Linked DNA regions of Homo sapiens: region 2 is linked to region 1. The links are contacts of gene promoters, found by promoter capture Hi-C in human tissues and cell types (Jung and others, 2019). All regions are on one chromosome and are shown on one strand. The core of a region is centred on a gene start or on the middle of the fragment in contact, and the rest is flanking DNA. Distances in the headings are between cores, read along the strand shown.

The links. Contacts are between HindIII fragments. The study calls those that stand out against the background at their distance.
Region 2: a contact is called between a fragment that was not itself captured here and the fragment with the promoter of MEIS2 in region 1, in 1 of the 25 tissues and cell types used here (dorsolateral prefrontal cortex).

Annotation. Positions count from the first base shown.
Region 1 is chr15:37,098,970-37,102,740 of GRCh38, reverse strand. MEIS2 (Meis homeobox 2) reads left to right here and starts at 2,192. Exons shown (of 12, transcript NM_170675.5): 1 at 2,192-3,286. The coding sequence starts at 3,275. It overlaps LOC124903465 (a long non-coding RNA gene), which reads right to left and starts at 3,493. Exons shown (of 2, transcript XR_007064581.1): 1 at 3,312-3,493; 2 at 1-2,940. RefSeq lists silencers at 822-961, 3,411-3,470, 3,621-3,771 and enhancers at 1,662-1,941, 2,192-2,351. The HindIII fragment of the contact is 11,980 bases long and covers 1-3,771 here.
Region 2 is chr15:37,876,024-37,879,794 of GRCh38, reverse strand. No RefSeq gene overlaps it. Among named protein-coding and RNA genes, the nearest start is that of TMCO5A, 57 kb to the left of the region's middle. The HindIII fragment of the contact is 5,498 bases long and covers 1-3,771 here.

The DNA of each region.
Region 1 (3,771 bases), core at 943-3,442:
AGCAACAAATAAGGATACTTTTAATCTTGGAGTTCTTCTAGGAAAAAAAAGAGGACGTGGAGGAAGTACCCTCCCCCCAACCTTCAGATTTCCTACCCGTCGGCTCTAGCAGGCTTGAAGCCCGGCAAAAAAGAGTGGCTGAAAACCTGGGCTACACTCTCCTCCCTGAAGCTCCGTGAGTCTGGCCGTCCCTGCTCGGGCCATTGGGCAGAAACCTCGCGGCCCGCAGCCCCTCTCCCTGGCGTCGCGCTATCCGCGCCTCTGCCAGCCCCTTCGCACTATCTTTCTTTATATGTGAGGGCCGATTTCCCGCAGACATCATTGTTATGATGGCTCATTTAATCAAACTGTTTAATTGCTCTGGTAATCACTATCATCATCACAGGTGCTCAATCATTCATCATTTTTGGAGGGCTTTATTGACCTCCGGAGTTCATTCCTCAGCCCTATTAAAACGAGGCCAAATTTCTCCGACTCCGCTTGGAGTCTCTGCAGGCTGCAATCTTAGCCTAGTTTCTGTTGCTCGAAAGCTTACAGTGAAGCAGGGAACATGGAACGGGGGCCAAAAAAAAGAGCCCTCCCACCCGCCCTCCTCCCCGCTCTCTCTCGCTCTCTCTCTCTCTCTCTCACACACAACACACACACAGAGTACTTTATTCTCTCTAATCAACCTCCCCCATCCCACCCTCCCTCCGCGGGAAAGTCGGTTAGACGCGGCTCGCGGAAGACACTACTCTCCACTTCTCAGAATGGGTTCAAAGTTGGGGAGGGATGCGGCTGTTGGAGAACAACAGTCCGCTTTCCACTCTCTGGGCCAGGGACTGGGAGGGCGAGAGCGAGAAGTTGGGGAGAGGACGCGCTTCCAGCGCCTGTCCGCCCGGCCGCGCCACAAGGGGCCGAGGGGCATGGGGGCTGCTGGGCGGCAAGGCTTGCGCGGGGTGACCGTGGCTCCGCCCCCAACTCCGGGCTCGTAGTGATTGACGCGCGGCCGCCGGGAAACCAGCCGCGCAGAGGTGAAGCCTGGTGCAGCTCGGGCCAGGGAGGACAGGGCACCGGCCACAACTAGTTTCCACCCAAACGGTGTGGGGTAGTTCCCTTCGTTTCCTTTTCCTTTTTGGAAAAGTTCTTTCGGAGCTGGCCCCATCTCCCTGACCCCGCGAAATCGCCCCTGTGTAATTAACACAGCCATTAGCAGGCGTTACCGCGGCCCGCCGCTGCGCCTCGGGCGACCACAACAAAGCTGGGCTGTGAGCGCCGGCCACTCCTCCTCGCCCGGCAACTTCTTTCTCCCCCACTCTCTCCGTCTTTTCCTCCTGTGCTTCCCAGCTCTGAGTGAGATCCACTTTGGAGACGCACACTAGTCGCGCGCGCGCACGGGCGCGCGGGCGCGCGCGCGCACACACACACACACACACACACACACACACACACACACACGCCTTTGGCTACATCGGACCCAGATGACTGCCTCCTCACTTCCTCCCTCCCGATTCCGCCGCGGCCCCCAAAGACTCTCGGGGTGGCCCCTTGTCCGCACCGCTTGGAGGGAGTGTGCTCTGAGTTAAGCTGGTCTCTTCTGGTCCTGGAAAAAAATGAGTATTGACAAGGTTGCTGGATCTGCGCAGAAAAGAAAGTGCCACTTAATAAAAAATTTAGCCCGGCAGTGGTACCGTCTGCAGAGCTTGCTGCCCTTGGACGTTAGCAGGAAGCCTTCGGGGTGCTGTAATCGGCGGGCAGAGGAGAGGGAGGCCGCGGAATTAAAAGGAACAAAAGCTAGAGCGCCATGCCAAACGTCCCCGGCAAGACCCAGTTAGGCAGGAGCCGGGAGTGATGGGAAAATGAACTAGAAGTAAGTTTTTTTTTTTTTTTAAATGAAAAGATCTGAGGCGGTACCGTACTTTCCCTGTGGTTTTCTGCAGTTTTCCTCTCTGCGCTCTCCCTGTCCTCTTCTCTCTCCCCCTCTCCCTCTCTCCCTGTTCGCGCGCGCGCGCGCGCAACACACACGCGCGCACGCACACACATACACACACACTCACACACACAGACACACTCTCCTTTTCCTCCCCCCCGCCGTCCCCCATCCCCGTGGAGGAGCAGGCTTGCTGATTTGCTCGGGTCCGCCCGGCTCGAGCCTCCCCTCCCCCTCCCGCCCCCCCGCCTCCCCCACCCCCCCAGCCGGGGCTGTCCGATCGCACTCGTTGCATATCAGAGGCTCGGCGCGGCGCGCTCCTCCTCGCTCCCGCTCCCCACTCCCGGGATGTGTCTCCGCCGTACGACGGGCTATGGCCACCACGACTTCCGGGTTCCGTCATTTCGTTCTCCCGCCGCCGACCCGCGCCGCCAAACTGAGGCTCTTCAATAAGCCAGGCAGCAGCCAACCTGCCAACACCTACTGACACTCACTCATCTCCCAGAGAGAGAAAGAGAGCGAGAGAGAGCGAGCGCGAGAGAGCGAGCGCGAGTGAGAGCGAGCGAGCGAGCGAGAAAGAGAGAGAGGGAGAGACAAAATACCTACCAGGAAAGGGGGGGAGGAAGTCCAATTTTTGCAAACTATTCATTTTTTTTTCTTGATTTTTCTCACTGCTTTCTTTGAACAATACTTTAAAGAGAGAGGATCGTATTATAGATACCGCGGGGGCAAAGCTAAAAAAGGGGGGAGGGGGGAGGAAAAAATTCAAGAAGCAGAAACCCCTCGCGGAGTTTTACTGGAAGAAAAAAACGGGTCTGAAAGATTCCTCCTCTTCATCATCATCAACCATCATTCATTCACTACCTTGACATTCCGGGCTTTGATTGACAGCTGGAGTGGCAAAAAGCCATGAAACACGACAGTTCGGTTACATGTGGGCTGCTGACGGGCCGCTCGTAACCTTCAGTTCGGGGGCTTGACAATTTTTTTCTTCTTTTTCTTCTTTTTCTTTTCTTTCTTTTTTTTTCCAACTGAGGGGAAGAGAAGAGAAAGAGGGGGAAAGGAGGACCGAAGAGGAGGAGGAGGGGAGGGGGGAGGAGGAGGAGGTGGAGGAGGAGGAGGAAGATCAGGAGGAGGAGGAAGAAGAGGAAAAAAGAGAAAAAGAAGAAATATCACAGAAAAAAAAATTCTTCGTTGTCTAGACTGGGCTTTTTTTCCCCCCTAAAAAATAGCATATTGGAGAATTGGGAGAAGTCTCTTTGGTTTGGAAAAAAAAAAAAGGAATCTTCAGCCTAGATCACTTTCTTATCCGGACTGGGATATTAAATATACGACACATCCAGGAGTTTATTGGAGCGCAGACTGATGGCGCAAAGGGTAGGTTTAAATCTCCAACACTTACCTAGATATAAATCCTCTCCTAAGAGGGGCCTGTCCCGATGCCTCCTCTCCCTTCAACGCTTCTGCTGCTGCTCGCTGCTTGATGATGGCGGCCAGTATTTTAAAAAATAGCAAAATTATTCATCGGCTTCTTTCCCTCCCGTGCCTCTGCGTGTGTGCGAGTGTGTGTGCGTGCGTGTGTGCGTGTCTGGGCGCGCGTGTTCCAGCGCTGTGCGAGCGGGCGGGCGGCGAGTGCGTGTGAGTGGTGTGTGTGTGTGCGTGTGCAATCGTTACACGCTTTCGCCTCGCTCCAGCTTTTACCCCAGCAGCGCGATTCCCCCGGTTCTCCTGCTGCCGCTGCTGCGCCGCTGCCGCCGTGGCTCGCGCGGCTCGGGGCGGGCACGGGCTGCGTAGGAGCCGCCGCCGGGGCCGCCGCTGGGGCCGCGCTGCCGCAGCCGCTGCGCCGCCGCCTAGACTACTAG
Region 2 (3,771 bases), core at 754-3,253, 780 kb before region 1:
TCAAAGCATTCCCTTTTATAAAATATGGATGTGGGCTTTAAATAAATGCAAATCTTCTCCCTCAAAATTGTGATTTCCGCTTATGGTTTTTACACTAATTGGAGAATTAATCAGTCTTGCATTGGGTTGTTTTCTATTTTATGTAATTTTTTCATGTTCTCTAATGTGTTTATCAATTTCAATCTAAAGAGGATTTGATTCCTTATTCAACATACCTTTGAATATGACCAAAACAGAAACAGAGTTATGAATTTATTTACATTTATTATTTTCATAATGAAAAATATGTACTTAGAATGTCTTAGCTTATATGTAGAAGTTAAACAGACACAATTTCCTGATTCTTTGTTATTTCTGAAGAGAAAGGTTTTTCTAATGTGTTCCTTATTCCCAAAACCAGAGCAATGAGAAATTGGGGGAAGAACTGTTCAAAAATCAAGTCTATATTGTCTGTCTGTTTGTTTAGATTTGGATTTACTTGAAGGATTTGAAAAAGTCAAAATCATTCTGCTACCTAGTTTTCAGGGTTGTGTACCCATCCACTGTAGTTATTCTATTTAATGTGAATATGTTTTTTAAAATGCCTAAACAGACAGTGTTCATTTTATGTGTTTCATCAAAAGAAACAGAACAATGAGGCAACAGAAATATAGAATTTAGCAAACCATTTTAAGCTTATGGTGAAATCTGTCTTTTGCAAGAGAAGCAACCAAATCATTAAAACATTTTATTCTTCCCCAAATCCTCCATTATATTTCTTAACCTTAATTTTGTGATGCCAACAAGTAAACAAAAATAGCTTTAAAAAACTACACTTAAAATTTTTAAAAATATTGGTCACGACAGATTGAAACATTTAAAAAATTATTTCAAGCATTTCACTGGAAATTCTTTTGCAATGGCTAGCGTAGGTGGCAGATTGATCATTTTGGGGGAGGCAAGGAATAGGAAGTGAGGAGGTTACAGTGATCTCTAGACTAATTTATTTGTTTTGCTGCATTGAAGTCAGATACCCTCTTATTAGGGAGCAGCTTTCAAAGCAGTCAGGAAGGACACCGATCTTGAGCTTGGTGAGAGCTTTGCTTGGGGTTACAAAACAAGCACACGGCAGGGTCAGTGCTAAATATCTTTAACCCCGTTAAGGAGGCAACTGAATTAGGGCTGTGGGGGAAAAAGTCCCTCCCCCCTGAAATGCAAGAGAAATCTCCAGATTCACATGAGTAACTTTCAGCTGGGTATTATGCTCCTGAAGTAACCTCTTCATTCCCATTGTTTTAGTGTGAAATCATTTCCTCAGGAGATAATTAGAGTTGCTCCATTTATTACATTAAATGATTAGCATGCACTTGAAATGATCCAGTGTATTTTCCTTTATTGCTGATGACTCTTAAATATGGGCCTCCATTCTTAACGGATAAATTAAAGTTGTCTTGGCTCTTTGTAACCGACTATGTAGCCAAACAAGAGAGACTTTCTTTTCCAAACATAGGCCAGGTGTGCTGTGGCTGAGGTCTAGGTCTGAAGAGATCCTATTCATATAGATGTCCCACCTGGTTCAACAAAGAGCTTGATAACATTGCTTAAAGGTTTTCTCTACTAGCCCCTTAATAAAAATGCTTTTAATGACAGTACTTTATCTGGCATTACTCATCCTATGTGTGGAGTAAGTAAGTTTAACATAAAGTGACCCAAGATCACATTTCAAAAAACTGCCTCACTGGAAAGGCATGCACATTATCTGAGTAAGCAATATGCCCTACAAAGCCATGGAAAAATGATATTTTAAGAATTACCAAATATAGATTTCATTTGGATGCAAGTGCTTTTCGCTGTCTTTGAACTAACCTGGTTGTGTAACTGACAGAGTCATCTAAAATCCACTGGAAAGTTCGGATCAAGCAGGCACTGCCTGGTAAATAGGCACCATTGCATATGTAATTAGAGAAATGAGAGATAAACTGGGTGCATCTTATATTTGGTTTATATATTGAGATTTACAAGAAATAATAAATGGAATTTAAGTGTTATGTTTGTTAAAAAATTTAAATCGGTATTTAGGTATGAGATGTAAACATGCACAGATGTAAAGACAAACTATGATGAAGACCTACCAGTTTCACATTCGTCTACTCTAAATGTGTGAGTATCTCTCATAAATTTCATTGTTAAGAGAGAATTTTACTTGAAGAGAAGAGTTTTAAAGAACATAATTGAAAAAATTTCCTGCAAACTTCCAATAGTTTTATATATTTTTGAGGATGAGGAGAAATTTTTCTGCCACCTAGACACGATGATTCAAAACTCTGTCATTTTGCTGTCATTGATTTGTTTATGTATTTGTTGTGTTCTAATAGCATTGTTATTTTCAAGAAAACACCGTGAGATGCTGTGGGAAGTTTCTGGTTCATGGCAATAACTGGAGAACGAAAAAGGAAAAGTGGAACAGACCGGGGGATGGGGGTGAAGTCAAGACTGTGCACTGACATTGTGGCCACAGTGATCCTTTCGTGAACAGGGTCGGGGGGCTGTTTTCATTCTCACACTCGGGTTTCTCAGGTATAGAGAATAGAGAATAAGTTACCAGAAATCAGGTATTTCTTTAGCAAGTGAGAAGAGGAATTTAATACTTCTCTCATATAATGCATTCACTGCTTCTCTCTGATAATTCATATCCCAGGAATGTTCACATAAATTCTCTGTAAACAGTAGCTAGCATTTTACCACCACAGAGCCAAATAAAAAACACCCATGGAAAAGTTATTTGTATCAGAACTATGATCTTCAGAAAGGAGGCCTGTCAATATTAATTGGAGGAGAATTTATTTTAGACCTAAAATGCTAGGATAGCAGCAATAATAACAACAACAAAAGACTTTTTTTGTTGTGCTTTGTTTTCTTGAGGGCAATCTTCACTCTCAAGCAATCTGAGCAACTGTGCAGAATTTCTTTCTGAAAGTTATTTAAAATATAATAAATTATAAATTATAAATTGTTATGCTCTGGTTAAATATTTAAATGACTTAAAAATTTTTGCATTTTCCTATTCACTTTAGCAGACAAGCATTTTCCATATTTAGTCTTTTATATGATAGCAAAATGCTGCGGGGCTCTGGCTGAGACACAGTAACTTTGGGAAAAACCCGATTTCTGAAGACCCAAGGTGTAATAACATTCTCTCAGCAACATCTCACATTGTCTTCCTGTTCGTGTTTACTCAGATGAGGCATACCATTGCAGAGGAGGAGAGAGGTTTCTAGATCATCTGGTCACATTTTAGATCAATAGCGACTCAGGTCCATAGACAGGACAGGATTCATCTGGACACACATGGTGGTCATGCCAGGACTTCTACCCAGTCCTCTAACTCTCCGTCTGGTGCTCCTTCTGCTACCATGGTAATACAGACTACAACAGAGAAATACCCAAAATGTCTTCTCCAGCCTCCAGCCTCTAGTTGGAAATGTTATTTACACATGGGAAATTCAGAGCATTCCAGTATGATTAGGTATGATCCTTATTGATGAATATTGCCACCAAATATGATTTTAATTCTATGCAACACAGATTTTATTTCAATTGCTTTAAGTGGATAATGGTCAAATTGTATTACCTTTCAGCTAGCCACACCAAAGAATCTTTGGGAGATGGCAAATTCAATTAATATAAAGGCATTGGCAATCTATTTATAGGAAGTCTATCTTTAATTTCTTTAAGAACTTCTGAGAGCACTGTCAAACCATGGCATTTGGAATTGGAGGAGATGTATTATCC